Linked DNA regions of Homo sapiens: region 1 is linked to region 2. Evidence: promoter capture Hi-C in human tissues and cell types (Jung and others, 2019). All regions are on one chromosome and are shown on one strand. Each heading gives the region's core, a stretch centred on a gene start or on the middle of the fragment in contact. The rest is flanking DNA. Distances are from core to core; before and after follow the strand shown.

What was found. Contacts are between HindIII fragments. The study calls those that stand out against the background at their distance.
Region 1: a fragment that was not itself captured here is called in contact with the fragment with the promoter of CYTH2 in region 2 in 1 of the 25 tissues and cell types used here (heart right ventricle).

The regions. Positions count from the first base shown.
Region 1 is chr19:47,501,513-47,506,787 of GRCh38, forward strand. NAPA (NSF attachment protein alpha) reads right to left here. Exons shown (of 11, transcript NM_003827.4): 2 at 1,911-1,990. It overlaps NAPA-AS1 (NAPA antisense RNA 1), which reads left to right. Exons shown (of 4, transcript NR_038452.1): 4 at 1-85. Among named protein-coding and RNA genes, the nearest start is that of NAPA, 11 kb to the right of the region's middle. The HindIII fragment of the contact is 4,210 bases long and covers 1-3,611 here.
Region 2 is chr19:48,466,999-48,472,466 of GRCh38, forward strand. CYTH2 (cytohesin 2) reads left to right here and starts at 2,371. Exons shown (of 12, transcript NM_004228.7): 1 at 2,371-2,528; 2 at 3,355-3,502; 3 at 3,605-3,671; 4 at 5,327-5,445. The coding sequence starts at 2,510. It overlaps LOC105372430 (a long non-coding RNA gene), which reads right to left and starts at 2,535. Exons shown (of 3, transcript NR_186576.1): 1 at 2,013-2,535. RefSeq lists enhancers at 1,472-1,972, 1,677-1,836, 2,030-3,023 and a silencer at 2,387-2,576. The HindIII fragment of the contact is 6,294 bases long and covers 1-4,260 here.

The sequences.
Region 1 (5,275 bases), core at 257-2,756, 970 kb before region 2:
CAACACAGAGCCGGCTCCCTCCAGGAGCTGCATGTCCAGAGAGGGAAACAGGATGTGGACAGCAAGAATGAATACATGCAGACCAGTGCCCATGGGCGGAGGGCAGAAGAGACCGTGCCTGAAGCCTCATCCATCCTGTGCTCATCTGCACACGGTCAGCTTCTGTGGGTCCCAAGCCATTCTGCCCACACATCTCCTAACTGACGTTTGGGAGGCAGCAGCATCTCTCCTCCTCCTCGTGCAGCTGACCACCTCCAGCTCAGCTCTGAGGCTTCTCCCCTTCATTCTCCTCCAGCTGAATCTGAGTCAGAGTTTCTAAGCTGGAAGAGGACCAGGAGGCCTGGCCCTATCCTCTTAAGTTTTGAGCAGCAGAAAAGACAAAGCCTTCCGGGTTTTCACTATATGATTTCATTATTTTCAAGAGTTCCAAATTTGAGTATAAAATTACGGCCAGGCGCGGTGGCTCATGCCTGTAATCCCAGCACTTTGGGAGGCCGAGGTGGGCGGATCACGAGATCAGGAGATGGAGACCATCCTGGACAACATGGTAAAACTCTGTCTCTACTAAAAATACAAAAATAAGCTGGGCGTAGTGGCACGTGCCTGTAATCCCAGCTAGTCAAGAGGCTGAGGCAGGAGAATCACTTGAACCAGGGAGGCGGAGGTTGCAGTGAGCCAAGATCGCGCCACTGCACTCCAGCCTGGCAACAGAGCAAGACTGTCTCAAAAAAAAAAAAAAAAAAAAAAAAAAAAAAATTTCAAGAAAAGGGGATATTACCGGGGGGAAATGGCCTAGGGCTTTTCTTTGAAGAGTTTGGGGGCAGAGGTAACAAATTTTAGGGGAAAAGCAACACCTATGTAATTAAAAAATAAGCTTTTTTTCTCTAGAGGAATTTTCTAAGTTTGGGAGCATAAAAATACAAAAAACATTTGGCTTTATTCACAACGTATTTTGTGAAAACTCAGGAATAACTCTTTGAATTTTGGGGAAACCAACAACATTCTCAAAAACGATGATAATCAATTTTATTGTGCACCTCTGCACCCTGCCTCCATGGTCCCACCACCAGGTTCCCTCTCCTCCACAGTCAGAAGTTCCTCCCTGCATTCAAACACTGGGTCTCTTGCCGTATTTCCTTAATTCAATCTTGGTGACATGAAAGATGTATGATGAAATGAGCCTCGAAAGGGCTCAACACACTGGCTTGTTGGACTTCTTGGGCCTGCAGGGAGCTCCAAACAGATCTCCAGCCTCCCTGAGCCCAAGGGGCTCCTCCCCACCCCTCTCCTCTGTGAAGCTATCCTGCCTCACTGGGGCAGGTTAAACACTCAGGCTCTGCAGTCAGAGCCTTGGTTTCTGAATCTTGGTTCTGTCACTTACTAGTTCTGGCATCCTGGGCAAGAGACTAAGCCAAGCCTCAGTTTCCAAATCTGTAAAATAGGGATATTTATAGACTGACCCTTAGGGCTGCTGTGCTAACGCAATTAAATGATGAGCACTTAGGACTCAACAAACAGCAGCCATGATTCACGTTGTTATTGGAATCACCTGAACATCCTCCCCCAGCCTAGAATTTAGACACTGATGGAAGCACTAAGGAAGTTACCAGGAAACCTGAAGTTCTGAATTTAAGGAGGACTCTAAGAGCTCATCAATCCACATGGGTTTATCTAGGTCTAATAATCTATTTATTCCCATCCTCTCTGTCCTTTCACCAAGGCCCCATGACCCAGAGTATAAAGTAACCCAGCAGGCACAAAACAAGAGAGCAGGCCAGTGGCTTTCCGATGCCGGAGAGGGCATACAAAGAGAAAGGGCCCTCAAGGCCAACCTCTCGGGCAGGCCTGTGTGAGTGGAAGCTGAGGGAGGAGGAGAGCACCTTGGAGGAGCTCTAGCGGAGATGACATACCACTCCAGTTTTTGGCCATTTTGAACATGTTTGCTGCTCTGGCGTAGATTTCGCATGCTTCCTCTATTTTGGATGAGCCTCTGGGGAAAAAGGAAAGAAAAAAAGGAGACAATCTAGTCGGCTATCCAGGAGAAAGCAAGCATTCTGCTCCAGTGCCGGGCACAGACGTGCCCCTACCCCTCACCCTTCACCTGTGAAGCCAGCTTCCCCCAGGCCTCTTGAGTCTGTGGCCCCCGCCCCTGCATACAATGGCACACTCACTTCGGGCAGACCAGCTCCCTCCGGGAGTACTGGGGTAGATACTGGGTGCTTGCTGGGGTAGTGGGGCGAAGAGTTCCTGACCCCACCACAACCCCAGGGTCTGACAGCCTCTTCTACTTCCTGCCTGGGATACTAGGGGCCCACTGGGTCCCAGGCGCGCTACAAATCCCCTTTCCCCGGGAGACTGCAAAGCATTCTGGGGGACTAGCCCAGTTTAAGACATCGTGTTGCTTTCGCAGAGGCAGCCTTAATCCTGTGCCTTGCACTCTGTGGTTGCTCAATAAAGACCTTGCAGCCCTGGAGTGTGTCATTACCAGCTCAGGACTGGGCATATATATCACACAGCCATACAAAGAAATGGGAAGCACTATTTTAAAGTGTAGATATAAGATGTTCCCATTTGTGTTTAAAAAAAAAAGAGGGTGGGCTGGGTGTGGTGGTTCATGGCTCCTGTAATCCCAACACTTTGGGAGGCCAAGGTTGGCGGATTGCTTGAGCTCAAGAGTTCGAGACCAGCCTGGGCCACACGGCAAAACCCCAACTCTACAAAAAATACAAAAAATTAGCAGGGTGTGATGGTGCACGCCTGTAGTCCTAGCTACTAGAGAGGCTGATGTGGGAGGATCACTTGAGCCTGGGAGGCAGAGGTTGCAGTAAGCCAAGATCACACCATTGAACTCCAGCCTGGACGACGACAGAGCCAGACCTTGTCTCAAAAAAAAAAAAAAAAAAAAAAAGAGAAAGAGAGTGAAAATAATAGAAACATACATGTTTATATAAACATAGGATATTTCTGGGCAAATACACAAAAACCTAGTAACAGCATTTTTCTCTTAAGGTGAAGCCTGCAGAAGGAGGGCCAGGTGTGGGAGGCAGACTTATTCACTGGACATCCCGTATTTGTACTGTCTGAATTTTTTTTTAACTGTTTGTACATCTTTTCGAGAAAAAAAATATATACATATATACACACACGTGTACATATATACACATGTGTATATATGTGTATGTGTATATATGTGTGTATATATCTATACATTTACACATACACAGACACACACACACACATATTTTTAAGTATTAGGATTTATATTTGGCCCTGTGGTCCAGCAATGAATTACATCTCTAGCAATTTATCCTAAAAAAACTAATCAGAAAAGTTACAAGGATGTTCAGCATAGCATTATTTAAAACAGCAAAACCCCCCAAAAACTTATTGTCCAACAGTAGGGATACACTGGGAGATAGACAGGAATTTGAAAACATAAAGGGTACCCTGTTTGGGCAGCTTCACTCTGGCTTCTTGACCTCCACATGTACATAATGAGCCTCCTCTTGACTTGGGGGACCTCATTAGTACCTCAAACCCGTAAGTCCCACTGCATTCTTCTGCCCTTAATAATACAACCAGGCTTAGCCCGCGAGGTCTGTAGTCTCTGTAACTGCTCAAACTCCCAATATCTACATAATCAGTAGAATAAAATCCACACACTCTGGAGTCCCACCAAATGGATTTCAGGGCCTCTCTTCACTGGCATAACTAGTGTTTAGTTTATTTTTAAGGAAGAGAAAAGGGAGGAGTGGGTACTTTCCCATTCAAATCATCCTCACCATCCCATCCCACACCCTGTGTCAACTGGCCCAACATTATACCTGGGAACTTGTCCACACCAACCCCAGCTGTGGAGGGGCTCAAAGGTAATTTTGGGAGCTGGGATGTGAGCATTCCTTCCCTCTGCACTGCGGATTCAGTGTGTCCAACCTGCCCATCCCTTTCAGCCACATGAAGTGCTCATTTCATCAAACCAGAGTCCCACAGCCACACACTTTGGGATTCGCTCAGTAGGGTCTGGATGGGGCCTGCAAATGAGATTTTTAACAATTGGGGTTTGGGGGGCCCAGGTAATTCAGCTGATCAGGTGAGTTTGAGAAGGAAAAATTGACTGAGACCGACTACCTGGAAAGCAGCCACCAGCGATCAGATCAGCGGCCAGGCCTGGCAATGTCAGCAGGCAAATAAATGCCCCCACGGTGGGCGGGCTGGTTGGGCCAGGGATCCTGGCCTCCTGAATCCACATCACACCAGGTAAATAATCTATTTATTCCTATCCTCTCTGTCATCTTGCCAGATGAAAAGCCTACCCTCTGCCTTCTGGGGCTGTGCTGATGCTGTCCCCCACCCTCTGCTGTCCCTGGGAAGTGGCCCTGAGCAATGTGTTCTTCCCGCACTCGCCCTGCTGCACTCTGTCTTCCCTCACCCACCTCACCTCAGCCAGCCCAACACACCTTGGGCCTTGTTTGGAGTGACTTCTTTTTTTTTTTTTTTTTTTTGAGATGGAGTTTCGCTCTTGTCGCCCAGGCTGGAGTACAGTGGCACGATCTCAGCTTACTGCAACCTCCAACTCCCGGGTTCAAGCAATTCTCCTGCCTCAGCCTCCTGAGTAGCTGGGATTACAGATGTGTGCCATCACACCCTACTAATTTTTGTATTATTAGTAGAGACAGGGTTTCACCACGTTGGCCAGGCTGGTCTCGAACTCCTGACCTCAAGTGGTCCACTCGCCTCGGCCTCCCAAAGTGCTGGGATTACAGGCATGAGCCACCGTGCCCAGCCTGGAATGACTTCTTTAGAACCCATTCCTGGCCTTGGAGAGGTAAGAAACTTTCAAAACCTTCTGGCTGAGAATCCTGAAGGGTCCTTTGGGGCCTGGCTGCAAAAAACCCTCAGAAGGACCTTCTCTGGAATGTTCTCTTAAAGGGACATTTTCAGACCTTAATCACAGGTCTGCCCACCCCACAGGTCCCCCAGCTCAGCCTTCCCTTCTTTTTGAGTGTGACTAAGTCCTATCCAGCTCCATGCACTCTCTGAAAAAGCACAGACCCTGGATGGGCAGAAATGACCCACGTCACTGAGTGGCCCACAGCGGGCAATCAACAATGAGCAGAGTCAGCCCAGCCGGGTTTATTTCAGGACGGACACAAAGCCTACCAGCTGCCCGGGCTGAAACTCTGTGATCCCAGGCTAAGCACAGCCAACCCTGCACGGGGTCAATGATTCTGTGGGGTGGAAAGGCCAGAGGGATTAACACCTGCTCAGGCCCCAG
Region 2 (5,468 bases), core at 1,121-3,620:
GTGTTTCTCGAGCATGGGTCCTCCGACCTGGCCCCCTGCCCATGCTACCATCTACCTAAGTGCCCCGCAGGCTGGGAGCCAACTGCAGAGGGAGCCAGTGACAGTGAGGAGGACGTGTTCCCACCCCGTGTTCTGGACCGAGGGCAGCCACTGTCATTGCCATTCAGCCTTCACAAGTGCTGCATCAACCCAAATGCCCCCTCCAGCTTCTCCATCTCCCTTTATCCCTCAGAATCCCCATGTAATAACCGGATGGGATTAATTAGCTGGCTGCTCTCTCAGCTCAGGGTGTCTGGGGTAGGTAGGGATGGGGGCAATGGAAACGCAGGGTTGGGGAAGGATGTTAAGTTGGAAGTGAAGGGGCAGGGAGGGGGTTTCGTTTGAAAGGAGTATGGGAGCAGGGCAGCCCAGCCTGGGTTTCCACTGGGGAGGGCAGGGCCTGGGCCACTCATAAAGGTCAGTGAGGGGATTAGGAGCCTCCATGTCTAATCCGACAGCTTAACTAGGTCCTGGCCCTGAATCCGTCTCCACCTGCCCAGCCCAGGGACAGCAAATGAGGACGAGGCCCAGACACCACTTCAGCCCCCATTACGGCTTCCCTCTTTACAGGGGTGCCTGGGTTCCCTATTCCAGCCAGTCCCTTGACCACATTCCGTTACAAATAATGGGACATAGAGGCTGGGGAAGGGGAAGGGGAAGGGGCCTCAGAGGAGGGAGGAGTTTAAGAAGGGCAAGGGTGGCTGGGCACGGTGGCTCACGCCTATGGGCACGGTGGCTCACGCCTAGCACTTTGGGAGGCTGAGGCGGGTGGATCACCTGAGGTCAGGAGTTTGAGACCAGCCTGGCCAACATGGCGAAACCCCGTCTCTACTAAAAATACAAAAATTAGCCGGGCATGGTGGTGGGCGCCTATAATCCCAGCTCCTTGGGAGGCTGAGGTAGGAGTATCGCGTCAACCTTGTGGGTGGAGGTTGCAGTGAGCTGAGATCATGCCAGTTCATTCCAGACTGGGCAAAAGAGCAAAACTCTGTCTCAAAAAAAAAAAAAAAAAAAAAAAGGGCAAGAGTATGAGAGGACAAGGGGGACCGTGACGTGAGGGGAGCCAGAGAGGAAAAAAGGCCTCTGAGATGGGAGAAGGAATCAGAGAGGTGGGAGGATGCTGAGGAAAGGGGAGTTGTCTTAGCAGGAGGATGCTTGGGGAAGGGAGGAGTCTTAGGAGGATGCTAAGCTAAAGGAAGGAGTTTGGAGAAATGAGGGAGGAGTCTGAGCGGCAGAAGGTGCCAGGAAGGCCGAGCCTGTGCTTTCACTAAATTTCACCTTCCCCTGTTCCATTCCCCATGACCGATACCAAATAGCATAGCATTTAGAAAAAAGTAAATCTTGGCCAGGCGCGGTGGCTCACGCCTGTAACCCCAGCACTTTGGAGGGCCAAGGTGGGCGGATCATGAGGTCAGGAGTTCGAGACCAGCTTGGCCAACATGGTGAAACGCCCGTCTCTATTAAAAATACAAAAAATAGCCAGGCATGCACCATCATGGTGCAACCCTGTAATCCCAGCTACTCGGGAGGCTGAGGCAGGAGAATTGCTTGAACCCGGGAGGCGGAGGTTGCAGTGAACCGAGATCGCGCAACTGCACTCCAGCTTGGGCGACAGAGCAAGACTCTGTCTCAAAAAAAAAAAAAAAAGAAAAAACGAAGAAGTCTTTTGTTTCACCACTCCACGACTCCGAAGAGGCTGAGGGGGATGGGGAGGGCATAGATGGTGATAAAGAAGGAGTTCGGCGGTAAGAAGGGGCTGAGAGGAGGGGAAATACGCGGAGAAGAAATGCAAAAGAAAAGGAGGCCTAAAGCCGCTCCCGGTTGCATGGCAACCTTTGCGGTCAGAAGCCAGCATGGCCTGCTAGGAGGTGTGGCTTACGGAAACAAGCCAGTTCTAGCCCCGCCTCCTAGCAACAAGACTAACAAAGTACCGCCCCCTAGCAACGTATTATCGGAGGCGGGGCTCGGTTTACCTAGACTCCAAGTGTCCAGGGCCTTTGAGCAGGCGCAGAGGTGGCTGTACCGCGTGGCTCCGCCTCCGCGCGACACTTTTCCGGGGCTTCTCATTGGAGAGCAAGCCTGTCAAGTGCTTTCTGTTGTTTCGGAGGCGGGGCCTGCTGCCCTGCCTGCACTCCGATTGGCCCCGCGGGCCGTCTACCTCTGGCCGGACATACCTACACCGGCTTTTTGTACGACTGTTGGCCCTGGAGAACGATCCTTTGGTGGCGAGGGCGGGGAGGACGAAAGCGCCCACTGTGGATTGGACAGTGTCAAAAAGAGGGGCGGTCCCTACTGAAGGGGCGGTTGGGCGACGAAGGGAAGAGTCTTTTCAGCGCTGAGGACTGGCGCTGAGGAGGCGGCGGTGGCTCCCGGGGCGTTTGAGCGGGCTCACCCGAGCCCGCGGGCCAACGCGGATCCAGGCCCGACTGGCGGGACCGCCCCGGATTCCCCGCGGGCCTTCCTAGCCGCCATGGAGGACGGCGTCTATGGTAGGTCGGGGAGGGGCGGGGTCGGCTGGGAGTTGCTGGAGCGTTTTCTCCTGAACGTTCCGCCGCGAACGTTTCCCCCTGGCGCGCGGCGCCCAGAAGCGTTCGGCTCAGTCGTAGACTTGTCGCGCCGCTTTTGTTGGGCGCTGGACGGGCTTCCGGCGGGGCCCGAAAGCCGGGCGTTCCAGGCCATTGTTTGGGCTGAGCCTGTTTCCGGTGGCGGCGGGAGGGGCGGGATGGAGTGGTGGAGGCGAGGCCGGGGCGGAACCATTCCCGCTGGAGGGGCGGGCGAGCCCAGCGCCTGCCGGGGCCGGGGAGGGGCGCTTGGGTTGCGGGGAGGGGAGAAATCTTGGGGGGCGGGGGCCTTCGATGTCCCGCCCCACCTTCCCAACTCTCCTGAGCTGTCATCAGTTCCCCCGGCTGTAGTGACTTTTCATGGACCCAGTAGTCCGGATAACCAGGTCCCCAGCTACCTCGCCAGTAATGGAGTCAGAAAACCAAGGCCTCAGTCCCCTTCCAAGTAATGGACCTAGAAGCCGAGGCCCCCAGCCCTTTCTTCCCTCAGATCTAAGAGCTCAGGCACCCATTCCCCTTCTCCCTCAGACTCAGGAATCCGGGCCCCAATTCCCCTTGTCCCCCAGGACTCAAGAGTTTAGAGCCCCAGCTCTTTCTCCTCTGCAGGGAGGAATCCAGGCCCCCAGCCCATTCTTCTGTGCAGACATAGGAAGCCCCTTACACATCCTCTCCCAGCTCTGTCCGCCCCCAGATTGCAGGAATTCAGGCTCACGGCCCCTAGCACTGACTTTTAAACCTTGACCCCGATCCCTAGAACCCCCAGACCTGACTCCGGAGGAGCGGATGGAGCTGGAGAACATCCGGCGGCGGAAGCAGGAGCTGCTGGTGGAGATTCAGCGCCTGCGGGAGGAGCTCAGTGAAGCCATGAGCGAGGTGGAGGGGCTGGAGGCCAATGAGGGCAGGTGAGGGCTGGGGCGGATGACCTAGGGGGCGTGGGGTTGGCTGAGGCCAGGGATGCCCAGGCATTGACCCTCCACCCCCAACCCTGCTCTCTGCTCCTGCAGTAAGACCTTGCAACGGAACCGGAAGATGGCAATGGGCAGGAAGAAGTTCAACATGGACCCCAAGAAGGTGCTTGGGGCCACAGGACTGGGATCAGCTGGGCAAACATCCAGGCAGGGGCTTCTGGCACCTCCGGGTTCCAGAAGCGTGATGGTGCCGGGTCTATTCTAGGTGGACAGACTTGGTCCTAATCCCTGGATTCAGATACTGGCTGTCCATTTGTTTTCTGAACACTGAACACTGACCAAGTGTTCCAGCCCTCCTGACTGTTTTGTCCCCTGCCTGGAAGGTCGTCTTCCACTTTCTACTTGTATGGGCGCATTTCTGGTCCCAAGATGAGCTCGAGTCTTGTAGGGGCTGTGGACAAAGTGACATGCACAAAGGAGAGTTGACCTCTCTCCCACAAAGGTGCCGTGACGGAGGAAGGTATCAGGGTAGTGGACCTCTGGAGGAGGCAGGCTGGTGGAGTCAGGGAGGGCTTCCTTGAGGAGGAGACATTCAGGTCGGGTTTGAAGGATGAGTAGGTGTTCACCAGGTGGAGGAAAGGCTTTTGTTCACCTACTCTTTGTGTGTGTGTGTGAGACAGAGTCTTGCTCTATCACCCAGGCTGGAGTGCAGCGATGTGATCTCGGCTCACTAACCTCCGCCTCCTGCGATTCTCCTGCCTCAGCCTCCCAAGTAGCTGGGCTTACAGGCTCCCACCACCATGCCCAGCTAATTTTTGTATTTTTAGTACAGATGGGGTTTCACCATGTTGGCCAGGCTGCTTCCAAACTCCTGACGTCAGGTGATCCGCCCGCCTCAGCCTCCCAAAGTGTTGGGATTACAGGCATGAGCCACCGTGCCTGGCCTGTTCACATACTCATTTAACACCCATTTTCTGAGGCCTCTCAAGAGTCTGATCCTGTGTAGGGCAATGCTGGGGACCCAAAGAAGAATTAGATGCTGCCTTGTGCTCAGAGAGCCCTTGGACACCGATACCACAGTTCACAGTGAGATAAAGCAGTAGTAGAGAGGTCTTCGTAGCACAGAGAGTGAGAGAAACCTCCAGTCTAGCCAGGGCTTCGAGTTCACAGCCCTTGAAGGACTGCGTCTGCTAACAGGTTGTCACGTTATTCTTTCCTGAAGCAATTGGAATTCTGTTCAGTCATTCAACAAACATTGATTGGCTGGGTTCGGTGGCTTATGCCTGTAATCCCAGTGCTTTGAGAGGCCGAGGAGGGAGGATTGCTTGAAGCCAGGAATTTGAGACCAGCCTGGGCAGCATAGTGATAACTCATCTCTAGAAAAAATATAAATAAATAAATTAGCCAGGTGTGTTGGGGCATGCCTATAGTCCCAGCTTCTGAGGAGGCCGAAGTGAGAGGATCCCTTGAGCCCAGCAGTTCGAAGCTGCAATGAGCTGTGATCACGCCACTGCACTCCAGTCTGCAATAGAGCGAGACCAGGTCTCAGAAAAAAGAGAAAATGTACTGAGCACCTGTGCCTTGCCAGACCCTGTTGTTGGTGCTGGAATTAACCAGGCAAAGGCAGAGAGGGTAGGCCATGAAGTGCAAAGGCCATGAGTTGGGAAGAATGCTATTTAAGACCTGTGAGAAGGCTGAAAATGAAACCTGGCCCTGGTCTGTTGAGGGTGGGGGTAGGTCTGGATGCTGAGGTTCCCAGGGAGGTGAGTGGGGTGGCTTTCTGGCCCTCAGCACTGAGACCTTGTCCCCACCCACCAGGGGATCCAGTTCTTGGTGGAGAATGAACTGCTGCAGAACACACCCGAGGAGATCGCCCGCTTCCTGTACAAGGGCGAGGGGCTGAACAAGACAGCCATCGGGGACTACCTGGGGGAGAGGTACGGTCACCACTCAGCTCCTG